Linked DNA regions of Homo sapiens: region 2 is linked to region 1. The links are contacts of gene promoters, found by promoter capture Hi-C in blood cells and fetal thymus (Javierre and others, 2016). All regions are on one chromosome and are shown on one strand. The core of a region is centred on a gene start or on the middle of the fragment in contact, and the rest is flanking DNA. Distances in the headings are between cores, read along the strand shown.

The links. Contacts are between HindIII fragments. The CHiCAGO score rates a contact against its expected background, and 5 or more counts as called.
Region 2: a contact is called between a fragment that was not itself captured here and the fragment with the promoter of RMND5B in region 1, in 3 of 17 cell types (naive CD8 T cells, total CD8 T cells and naive B cells). The highest score is 6.9, in naive CD8 T cells.

The regions. Positions count from the first base shown.
Region 1 is chr5:178,127,919-178,134,348 of GRCh38, forward strand. RMND5B (required for meiotic nuclear division 5 homolog B) reads left to right here and starts at 3,096. Exons shown (of 11, transcript NM_022762.5): 1 at 3,096-3,136; 2 at 3,319-3,458. RefSeq lists enhancers at 1-604, 1,618-2,269, 2,270-2,921, 4,200-4,729 and a silencer at 2,653-3,242. The HindIII fragment of the contact is 11,712 bases long and covers 1,397-6,430 here.
Region 2 is chr5:178,064,845-178,070,474 of GRCh38, forward strand. No RefSeq gene overlaps it. Among named protein-coding and RNA genes, the nearest start is that of N4BP3, 46 kb to the right of the region's middle. RefSeq lists a silencer at 3,696-3,775. The HindIII fragment of the contact is 4,078 bases long and covers 2,270-5,630 here.

The DNA of each region.
Region 1 (6,430 bases), core at 1,846-4,345:
TAATTTTTTTTTTTTTTTGTATTTTCAGTAGAGACAGGGTTTCACCATGTTGGCCAGGCTGGTCTTGAATTCCTGACCTCAAATGATCCACCCGCCTTGGCCTCCCAAAGTACTGGGATTACAGGTATGAGCCACCACGCCTGGCCCATGTTTGTTTGTTTTTGAGACAGGGTCTCTCACACTCTGTTATCTAGGCTGGAGTAGTGGCGCGATCACTGCTCACTGCAGCCTCGACCTCCTAGGCAGCCTCCCATCTCAGCCTCCCAAGTAGCTGAGACTACAGATGTGCACCACCACACCCGGCTAATTTTTGTATTATTTGTACAGACAGGGTCTCCCTATGTTGTCCAGACTGGTCTAGAACTCCTAGGCACAAGCATTCCTCCCTCCTCAGCCTCCTAAAGTGCTGGGATTACAGGCGTGAGCCACCATGTCTGGCCCCAAAGAGGGTGATGGGAGTGGGGGCCAGAAGACAGAATGAACAAATAAACACGCAAGATAACTTCCAAGTGCTATAAAGAAAACAGGTCGGCTGGGTGCGGTGGCTCACGCCTGTAGTCCCAGCACTTCGGGAGGCCGAAGCAGGCGGATCGCGAGGTTAGGAGTTCAAGACCAGCCTGGCCAGCATGGTGAAACCCCGTCTCTACTAACAATACAAAAAATTAGCCAGGCATGGTGGTGTGCACCTGTAGTCCCAGCTACTCAGGAGGCTGAAGCAGGAGAATTGCTTGAACCTGGCAGGCGGAGGTTGCAGTGAGCCAAGATTATGCCATTGTACTCCAGCCTGGGCGACAGAGCAAGACTCCGTCTCAAAAAAAAAAAAAAAAAAGAAAACAGGGCAAGGAATGGTGGCTCATTCCTGTAATCCCAATACTTCCAAAGGCTGAGAGGGGAGGATCTCTTGAGGCCAAGAGTTCGCAACCAGCTTGGGCAACATAGGGAGACCACCTCTCTATTTTGAAAAAAAAAAAAAAAGTAAGTTGTGCAAAGGGGAGGGAGGGGAAGGCATGGAGGATTCAAGGGGAGGATGGCCTGGAATGAGGCCCAACCAAAAAGGGAGCAGAAGTGGGCAACACAGAGACCTGGCTTTTTCTCCAGGGCTGTTCCTAGTCCCAGCTGAGGCCTGAGGAGGAGTGGGGACTTCTCTACTCTTTCCCTCCAGAGCAGAGGGTCCGGGATAGAAAATTCAATCTGGGGCTGGGTGTGGTGGTTCATGCCTGTAATCCCAGCAATTTGGGAGGCTGTGGTGGGTGGATCACCTGAGGTCAGGAGTTTGAGACCAGCCTGGCCAACATGGCAAAATCCCCTCTCTACTAAAAATACAAAAATTAGCCGGGCATGGTGGAGCATGTCTGTAATCTGTTACTCATGGAGCTGAGGCAGGACAATCGCTCGAAGCTTGGAGGTGGAGGTTGCAGTGAACCGAGATCACACCACTGCACTCCAGCCTGGGCAACAGAGCAAGACTTCATCTCAAAAAAAGAAAAAGAAAATTCAGTCTGGACCTGGGTTTGGGGTCAGTGCCTGTTCCCTCCTCCTTCCTAACCCTCACCCTTCCTCCTTAGGGCAGATGGGCAGCTCCCATCTTCTCCCCTTCCCCCGTTCCCCAGGACAGCGACCAACACAGGGCGGCAGGGTAGGGCTGGACCCCCTCCTCCGCAGAACTGAATTCTGTTGAATACCCAGTGGGCAGATTAAGTTCGGGCTAAGGGGACCAGAAAGGCTGGGACAGGAAAGGAGTTTTCTTTTCTTTTCTTTTTTTTTTTTTTGAGACGGAGTCTCGCTCTGTCGCCTAGGCTGGAGTGCAATGGCGCGATCTCGGCTCACTGCAACCTCCGCCTCTCGGGTTCAAACGATTCTCCTGCCTCAGTCTCCCGAGTAGCTAGGATCATGGGACTACAGGCGCCTGCCACCATTCCCGGCTAATTTTTGTATTTTTAGTACAGACGGGGTTTCACCATATTGGACAGGCTGGTCTCGAACTCCTGACCTTATGTTCCGCCCGCCTCAGCCTCCCAAAGTGCTGGGATTACAGGCGTGAGCCGCCCGGCCCGGAGTTTTCTATTCTTTTTTTTTGAGACGGAGTCTCGCTCTGTCGCCCAGGCTGGAGTGCAGTGGCGCCGTCTCGGCTCACTCCGAGCTCCGCCTCCCGGGTTCACGACATTCTCCTGCCTCAGCCTCCCGAGTGGCTGGGACTACAGGCGCCCCCCACCTCGCCCGGCCAATTTTTTGTATTTTTAGTAGAGACGGGGTTTCACCGTGTTAGCCAGGATGGTCTCGATCTCCTGACCTCCTGATCCGCCCGCCTCGGCCTCCCAAAGTGCTGGGATTACAGGCGTGAGCCGCCGCGCCCGGCCTGGAGTTTTCTTTTTTTTTTTAAGCATCACTTCATATTTCAAGAGCTCTCAGTTCTCCTGAGATTTCTAGGCTCTGTCCAGGATCCCTAAGCCTGTTCACAGTCCTACTTGAAGTTTCTAATCTTTCTTTTCTCATTAACCAAAACTGGAGAGAGGAAAAAGCCCATCATTTTCCCTGGACAGCAGCGCCTACTGGGAGTTTCACCCGCATTAACATGCAAACGACAGGCAAACTCCTAGTCATCCTTCCAAAGACCCTGCTCCACAGCCCTGCCGAGGCCGGTGCGCACCTAGCCCAGCCACTGCCCCTCACGGCCCCCGCGCCGCCCTCACTGAGCAGGGCGGGCAGCGCTGTAAGCGTAACCACTTGGGGCTTGGGGCTTCTGACCCGGGAGTCGGGTGCTGGGTTGAGTGCGAGGCCGACGCCTCTGCCGGGTGGGGAACCCGCCCGCCGGCGAGGAGCGGTCGCGGCCAGGGGCTTCCGCCGACTGGGAGGCCCGGGGCCGGGCCGGAGGGACTCGGAACCTGGAAACGACCAGGCGCGACCCCCAGAGGACTACAGGCGCGGCTTTTCTGGCCGCCGCCCGGTTCCCGCGGGCGACTCCACTCGGCATGCGCGGCGGGGAGCCTCGGCGGTGAGGCGCAAAGCCGCGGGCTCGTGGGACGGCCACCCCTCCGCAAAACCGCCAATGGGCGGGCCCGGGCCGCCGATCGCCCGCCGCGGCTTCCGGTTCCGATGACAGTGGCGCCGGAAGCCGGGGCCGGGGCTGCGGGGCGAGGTGAGAGCGGGCGGGCTTGGGAGCCGGCAGGTGCGGGCCGAGGGCGGGCACAGCGGCCGGCGGAGCTGAGGCGCGCGGCGGGGAAAGCTCGGCCGGCCTCCCGGGCCCCAGCCTTCTCCAGAACCCCTGCTACCCACGACTAAGCCCCGAACAATCTGCCCTTGGGCTTGTTCTCTTCGCAGTTGTCGGCCCTGGGCCGGGAGCTGGAGTCCCAGACTCATAGGTCCCGGCCCAGCCCCCGAAGAGCCGCCTCAGCCGGGGGGAGTTGCTCGGACTCAAACGTCCAGTCCTCGTGCGACCGCGCTGGGTCGGAAGTGAGCAGGTGCGCACCGGGCTCGGCAGGGCTATGGAGCAGGGTCTTTGGAAGGATGACTAGGAGTTTGCCTGTCGTTTGCATGTTAATGCGGGTGAAACTCCCAGTAGGCGCTGCTGTCCAGGGAAAATGATGGGCTTTTTCCTCCCTCCAGTTTTGGTTAATGAGAAAAGAAAGATTAGAAACTTCAAGTAGGACTGTATAGTAAAAAAAAAAAAAAAATGGAGGAGGGCGATATGACACGGTAACTGGTGTGAGGGTGGGGCGGAGGGGTCAGTATTAGATACTGTGGTCTAGCAGAGCATCTCTGAGGACGGGACATTTGCGTTGAGACCCAAATTAGGAGGCAGGCTTAGGAAGATACGGGAAGAGAGTGGTCCAGGCAGCGGGAACAGCCAGTGTGAAGGCCCTAGGGCAGAAATCAACTGAGAGTATAGTCAAGGAACAGAAAGCAAGCTAGTGTGGCTAAAGTATGGTAAGAAAGGGAAAGAGTGGTAGGAGATGAGGTCGGATAATTGGGGTTTGGTCACATAGAGTCTGTAGGTCAGAGAGAGGAATGTGGAGTTTTTTCTAAGTACAGTGGAAATCTTTTGGTTTTAAGCAGAGGAGTGACATGTAGGGTAGAGAGTGGATGGAGGTCGCGGCTGCAAAAGCATAAGAATTGGCTGGGCACGGTGGTTCACGCCCGTAATTCCAGCACTTTGGGAGGCTGAGACTGGCAGACGGCTTGAGCTCAGCACTTCAAGACCAACCTGGCCAACATGGTGAAACCCTGTCGCTCCAAAAAATTAGGCTGGGCGCAGTGGCTCACGCTTGTAACCCCAGCACTTTGGGAGGCCAAGGCGGGAGGATCACTTGAGGCCAGGAGTTCAAGACCAGCCTGGCCAACATGGTGAAACCCCGTCTCTACTAAAAATACAAAATTTAGCCGGGTGTGGTGGCAGGTGTCTGTAATTCCAGCTACTTGGGAGGCTGAGGCAGGAGAATCGCTTGAAACTGGGAAGCAAAGGTTGCAATGAGCCAAGATCGTGCCACTGTACTCCAGCCTGGGCGACAGAGTAAGACTCTGTCTCAAAAACAAACAACAAAAAAATTAGCCAGGTGTGGTGGGGAGAGAGGGGAAGAATAGGGACAAAAGGGAATACATAAATAAACACAAAGGAGAAAAGGCCCTGCATGGACCACTTACATGTGTCATGAACTCAGGAGTGTTCATGGTGGGACTACATGGTGCACCTGTAGTCCCAGCTTCTTGGGGTGGGGGGCTGAGGTGGGAGGATCACTTGAGCCCAGGAGGTCGAGGCTGCAGTGAGCCCTGATTGTACCACAGCACTCTGGCCTGGGAAACAGATTGAGACCCTGTCTCTCTCTTTTTTTTTTTTTTTTTAAGCAACCCTATTAACTGAAGAGACCCTGCCTCACAAAAAAAAAAAAAAAAAAAAAAAAGCGTTAAGAATTGGGTCAATGGAGGTTGTCTAATCTTTTTTTTTTGTTTTTGTTTGTTTGTTTGTTTTTTTGAGACAGTCTCACTCTGTCGCCCAGGCTGGAGTGCAGTGGCGCCATCTCAGCTCACTGCAACCTCTGCCTCCTGGGTTCAAGCAATTCTCCTGCCTCAGCCTCCCGAGTAGCTGGGATTACAGGCACGCACCACCACGCCCAGCTAATTTTTGTATTTTTAGTAGAGACAGGGTTTCGCCATGTTGGTCAGGCTGGTCTCAAACTCCTGACCTTGTGATCCGCCTGCCTCGGCCTCCCAAAGTGCTGGGATTACAGGCATGAGCCACCACGCCCAGCCGATGTTGTCTAATCTTTGTCAGGCAAAAGGGACCTTTATGATTTGCTCAAACTTCCTTTCTCCTTACACAGGAGCCCCTTGTTTCAGGATGCTAAATACTCCAGGATAAACCTCCATACATGCCTTTGTGGAGATTTTAATATTTCACTCATGTCTCTTTTCTACCCACTCCTACACATTTGAGCTCAGGTTCTCCAGCGCAGTTAGGAAATGGATGTGTCATTTAATCAGCAAATGTGTGTGTGTGTTTTTTTAAATTTGAGACGGAGTTTTTGCTCTTGTTGCCCAGGATGGAGTGCAATGGCGTGGTCTTGGCTCACTGCAACCTCCACCTCCTAGGTTCAAGCGATTGTCCTGCCTCAGCCTCCTGAGTAGCTGGGATTACAGGTGCCCGCCACCACGCCTCGGTAATTTTTGTATTTTTAGTAGAGACGAAGTTTCACCATGTTGGTCAGGCGGGTCTCAAACTCTTGACCTCAGGTGAGCCACCCACCTCAGCCTCCCAAAGTGCTGGGATTACAGGTGTGAGCCACTGCGCCGGCCAATCAACAATTTTTTTTTTTTTTGGAGACGGAGTCTCACGCTGTCTCCCAGGCTGGAGTGCAGTGGCACAATCTTGGCTCACTGCAAGCTCCACCTCCCGGGTTCACACCATTCTCCTGCCCCAGCCTCCCGAGTAGCTGGGACTACGGGTGCCCGCCACCACACCCGGCTAATTTTTTGTATTTTTTTAGTAGAGATGGGGTTTCACCGTGTTAGCCAGGATGGTCTTGATCTCCTGACCTCATGATCCACTCGCCTCGGCCTCCCAAAGTGTTGGGATTACAGGCGTGAGCCACCGCGCCCTGCCCCAATCAACAAATGTTTACTGAGCATCTACCATGGACCAGGCCCTAGTCTGGGCACTGAGGGGGAGAAAGGACAAGACTACATTCCAGCCATCGAGCAGCTCACAGACCAATGGAGGAGGCTGACGTGGACAGGCTGTTACTGTGCTGCAGTAGCTGAGGACTCGATGGGTGTGGTGTGGCCACTCTTGCCAGGTTATGAAGCAGAAAAGGAGGCAGGGAGATTTCACTGAGGGCTCAAGGGGAGGTGATAATTTAACTACAGCTTACGTACTCTATACAAAGAAGTGCAGAGGGCACTCTAAAAATGGGAACAACTTGTGCAAAGGAAGCAAATA
Region 2 (5,630 bases), core at 3,059-5,558, 62 kb before region 1:
TGGGACCCACCAGCAAGAGGGCCCTGTGTTGTTGGAGGTGGCAGCTACCTCTGTGGCTTGTCCCAGGGTCACCAGAAATTCTGGAGAGAAATAGATGTGGTCCGTGAGATGAAATAAGTGAAACCTTCACTTCTGCTTATTTGGAAAGCCTCCCTCAGACTTAGTTTCTTCGTCTGAAAAATGGGCGTAATTACTACCTGATGGGGTTATTGTGAGAATCACATGAGCCAATCTATGCTCAGGGTGCAAAGCATGGAACTCCTCTTGCCTTCTGAAATTATGTGAGAAGATCTCCAGCACCACTCCTTCATCCCGAGACTCTCCCAGCCTTGCACAGTCCAGAGAAGGTCACTGCAGATTAAAATAGACCTAAAAGACACATCTACCAAATGCAGCGTGTGGACTTTAGGTGGATTCTGACTGAAACCCACCAATCCCGCTTGATCCGTGGTTCCACTTTCCACCATTGCAGTTGTCTGTGGTACAATTCAATAAGATAGTCTTAGGGAGATAGACCACATTCACATAACTTTTATTACAGTGCATTATCAATTATTGTTGTTAAACTCTTACTGTGCCTCATTTATAATTACACTTTATTATAGGTGTGTATGTATAGGAAAAAATATAGTATACAAGGGCTCGGCATTATCTGTGGTTTCACGGCATCCACAGGATCTCGGAACATACACCCCGCAGATAAGGGGGTACAGCTATATAAAAATGTATTCTTGAGAAAATCAGGAAAAGGCAAATAAGGATTGGGCATTAAAAGATGCCAAAGTGGCTGGGCGCACTGGCTCAAGCCTGTAATCCCAGCACTTTGGGAGGCCTAGGCAGGTGGATCACCTGAGGTCAGGAGTTTGAAACCAGCCAGGCCAACATGGTGAAATCCCATCTCTACTAAAAATGCAAAAATTAGCCGGGCATGGTTGCGAGTGCCTGTAATCCTAGTTACTAGGGAGGCTGAGGCAGGAGAATCACTTGAGCCCAGGAGACGGAGGTTGCAGTGAGCCGAGATCATGCCACTGCACTCCAGCTTGGCCAACAGAGCGAGACTCTGTCTCAAAAAAAAAAGATGCCAAAGATGCCAAAGTGTGATAGTGCAATTGGGTTTTTAAAAAATTCTTATCCTCCTGGTGACATGCGCCTGTAGTCCCAGCTGAGGTGGAAAGACTGCTTGAGGCCAGGAGTTCAAGACCAGCCTGGGCAACATAGCAAGACCATATATACACACAAAAAATTAGCCAGGCATGCTGGTGTGTGCCTGTAGTCTTAGCTACTTGGGAGGCTGAATCAGGGAGATCACTTGAGCCCAGGAGTTTGAGGCTGCAGTGAGCCAAGCTCACACTACCGCACTCCAGCCTGGGCAACAGAGTGAGACCTCATCTCTTAAGAAGAAAATTTTAGCCTTTAGAGATACAGCCTAAAGTATTTATGGGTAAAATACTATAATGTCTGAGGTTTGCTTTTAAATAATCTGATCGTGTGAGTGGATGTGAGTGCATAAAGATGAAAAAAGAGGCCAGGCGCAGTGACTCATATCTGTAATGCCAGCACTTTGGGAGGCTAAAGCGGGCAGATTGCTTGAACCCAGAAGTTCGAGACCAGCCTGAGCAACATAGTGAGACCTCGTCTCTACAACTAAAAAAAGAACTTAAAAAAAAGAAAAAAGGTGAAACAGGCCGGGTGCGGTGGCTCATGCCTGTAATCCCAGCACTTTGGGAGGCCAAGGTGGGTGTATCGCTTGAGGTCAGGAGTTCGAGACCAGCCTGGTCAACATGGTGAAACCCCATCTCTACTAAAAATGCAAAAATTAGCCAGGCGTGGTGGCGGGTGCCTGTAATCCCCGCTACTCCAGAGGCTGAGGCACGAGAATCGCTTGAACCAGGTAGGCGGAGGTTGCAGTGAACTGAGATCATGCCACTGCACTCCAGCCTGGGTGACAGAGTGAGACTCCATCTCAAAAAAAAAAAAAAAAAAAGGTGAAACAAGTGGTCCTGAGATGCTCACTGTAGGTAACTGATAGCTGCCTGATAGGTACAAGAGAGTTTATTGCTCTCTTCGTTCTTCTTTGATGTATGTGTGAAATGCTTTGTGGAAGGAGGGAAGGAGGATGGGAGAGAAGCAGGGAGGAAGGAAAGCACTCTGAACATTTCCTGTTGTGTAGGTAAGAACTCCAGCGCATCTCAGACCACCAGAGCTCGGGCCACCAAGCTCTGCTACTAAGGGCTGCCCTCCTGCTTGCAGTGACACCACTAGCAGCGTAAGCTTCCAGAAGAGGATGGTTCCACACACAGTGCCAGCTTCACCAGTCCTTCTGGGCACAAACACACCCAAGGGATTCCTGCTTCGAGAATGCAGGGTCTGAGTGGGCTCCAGCATCTCTCCCTGTAGATTCCATGGCCCTTGTCCTCTCCAGGCCCAGGAAATCCAGCACAAGACGTACAGCCACCTTCCTTTTTCAACCTCCTGAAATACCAGAGCAGCTCCCCTTCAAATCATCCCACCCCTTCAGAAGGGGCTCAGATCTGGGAGGAAAAGGGCTCCCAGTGTGGGGCACTGTCACCCTCCACAGGCCACAGAGGACCCTCCTGGGATGGGGAAAGAGATGGGTGGGCTGGGTGGGGAGACTGTTTTCTGGTCACACCTGTTGCTCCCCATTCTACCTCCCCCCACTTGAATACAGACAAGGAGACCTCTTGCTAGAAAAGTGACATCATGGCAGGGCATGGTGGGTCACACCTGTAATCCCAGCACTTTGGGAGGCCAAGGCGGGCAGATCACTTGAGGTCAGGAGTTCAAGACCAGCCTAGCCAACATGGCGAAACCCCATCTCCACTAAAAATACAAAAATTAGACTGGCGTGGTGGCGTGCACCTGTAATCCCAGCTAGTCAGGAGGCTGAGGCACAAGAATCGCTTGAACCCGGGAGGCGGAGGTTGCAGTGAGCTGAGATTGTGCCACTGCACTCCAGCTTGGCTGACAGAGCGAGACTCTGTTTCAAAAAAAAAAAAAAGTGACTGTAAAAGTTACATGCCCATAAATCTCCATGCTACAAGCCAGGGAAACAGCAAGAGGCCATGTGCAGATGGGAGTGGCCCCTTCCCACTCCCAAGATCAAGAGCTCCTTATGCATCCACCAGCTTGTAATCACTTGCTTCTTCTCACAGACGTTCCTGAGAGGAGACTTCCCACCAGCCTGACATATTGTCGGGGAGAAAGTCACTTCCCAACCTTGCTTTAGGCCAGTGTTTACTGAGAGACAGGCATGTGCCTCAGAAGGGAGAAAACTTCCTCCCAAAACATGTTAGTATATAAGTATCTTCCAGCCAATTTCTTTCCTTTGAAAAAACCTTACTGGCCAAAATTTTTCAAAATAAAAAAATTGGGGAGAGGAAGATTCTAAGACAGTGGAGTAGCAAGTTCCAGAAATCTGTCTCTTCACCTAGACAACAATTGCGCCGGCAGAATCTGTCTGATGTGACTATTTTGGCACTCTGGAGTCTATTGACGGCTTCCAACTGTGGCTAATTTGGGTCAATTTCAGCTCTCAGCAGGCAGCAGCCACCCATCTCCCATCCCATGCCCCTGGCAGGCAGCTGTGCACATGTTCCTGGAGCAGCTTGCAGACAGCTGGTGGGTGGGAGCCGGGTGAACAAAAAGGACCCTGTCCTCCAAATACGGGAGGTCTGTGCTCTGCTCACTGATTGCTGCTTCTGATCACTGAGGTGCAAAGAGGTGGTGGTTATTGTGGTTGCACCTGCCCCCAATGTTACAAGCCCTTCCCCCTCTGACTGAAGTGACTTCCAGAGGATTTAAGGACTGTGGGCCTGCCCCCACCTGGTTCACATTTCTCTTTCTCCCCTCTTGGGAGGCAGACATTGAAGACCAGAACATTCTAAAGCAACTGCATATATTGGGGAAATTAGAGAGTCACCATGTGTGCCCCAGGGAAGACGCACGTTCAGAGAAGACTTGAGAAAACCTTAAGTTTATAGCTCTGGCTGATCATTGGCACAGAGACAGACTACAAAGATTAATTTAAAAAAAAAAAAAGTCTGGCCGGGTGTGGTGGCTCACACCCATAATCCCAGCACTTTAGGAGGCCAAGATGGGTCGATCACCTGAGATCAGGAGTTTGAGACCAGCCTAGCCAATATGGTGAAACCCTGTCTTCTACTAAAAGTACAAAACTTGGCTGTGCATGGTGGTTCACGCCTGTAATCCCAGCACTTTGGGAGGCTGAGGCTGGTGGATCGCCTGAGGCCAGGAGTTCAAGACCAGCCTGGCTAATGTGGCGAAACCCCATCTCTACTAAAATTTAAAAAATTAGCTGGGCATGGTAGCACGTGCCTGTAATCCCAGCTACTTGGGAAGCTGAGACAGGAAAATTGCTTGAACCCAGGAGGCAGAGGTTGCAGTGAGCTGAGATCATGCCACTGCACTCTAGCCTGAGCGACAGAGGAAGACTCCATCTCCAAAAAAAAAAAAAAAATTATCCAGGCATGGTGGTGAACACCTATAGTCCCAGCTACTCTGAGAGATGAGGCACAAGAATTGCTTGAACCTGGGAGGTGGAGGTTACAGTGAGCCAAGATCCAGCCACTGAACTCCAGCCTGGGTAACAGAGTGAGACTCTGTCTCCAAAAAAACAAAGAAAGAAAACAGATTGAAGAGGCCAGGCACAGTGGCTCATGCCTGTAATCCCAACACTTTGGGAGGCTGAGGCGGGTGGATCACTTGAGGTCAGGAGTTCAAGACCAGCCTGGCCAACATGGTGGAACCCAGTCTCTACTAAAAACACACAATTATCCAGGTGTGGTGGTGTGTGCCTGTAGTCCCAGTTACTCGGGAGGCTGAGGCAGGAGATGGAGGTTGCAGTGAGCTGAGATCGTGCCACTACACTCCAGCCTGTGTGACAGAGGCAGACTCCCTCTCAAAAAAAAAAAAAATTGAAGAAAACTGAACAGAGTCTATAGGATCTGCGAGACACCATCAAGCAGACCAACATACACATCGTGGGGGCCCCAGAAGTGCATACGTGTCTGTAAGTAGTGTTTTCCCAGCATGACTTGGAGGAAACCCTGCCTTTCTGGCTTAGGCTCGGCCACAGCCATCTATGTGAGACCAACCCAGAAACACTGGCGCCTTGGGGAGACAGTGAGCCTGGTGGAGGGACACTCTGGTTGGGAACTGGACAGCCCCAGTTCTGCAAATAACTGCATGTGCTTGTGAGACCGACTCACCCCACCAATCCTCTCTTCCTCATCTGTGAAAGAGGCGGAACACCAGCACCCCCCTCTGGCAGTGTGAAGGTTTCAGTAGGGGACACATCGTGGAGGATGGCTGGGATTTGCTCACACCACTGCTTAGATGAGCAGAAAAGATGTGTCCAAGTGAATCTTCTTCCCAAGGCATGGGTGCTTGTGGGGGTGGGGGGTGCCAAGACTTCAACTTAGCATCTCAGTCTCTTCTGAGTTTCTTTTAAAGTCCAACTTTGAACCTAGAGATGTGTAAACAGAATCTTGTGAAAGACGATGTCTTTCAGATGAATGTTCTATCATTTGGATGGAAATGATATTGAATCCCCCTCCTTGTGCAAATGAGCCCTGTGTATGTATGTGTAT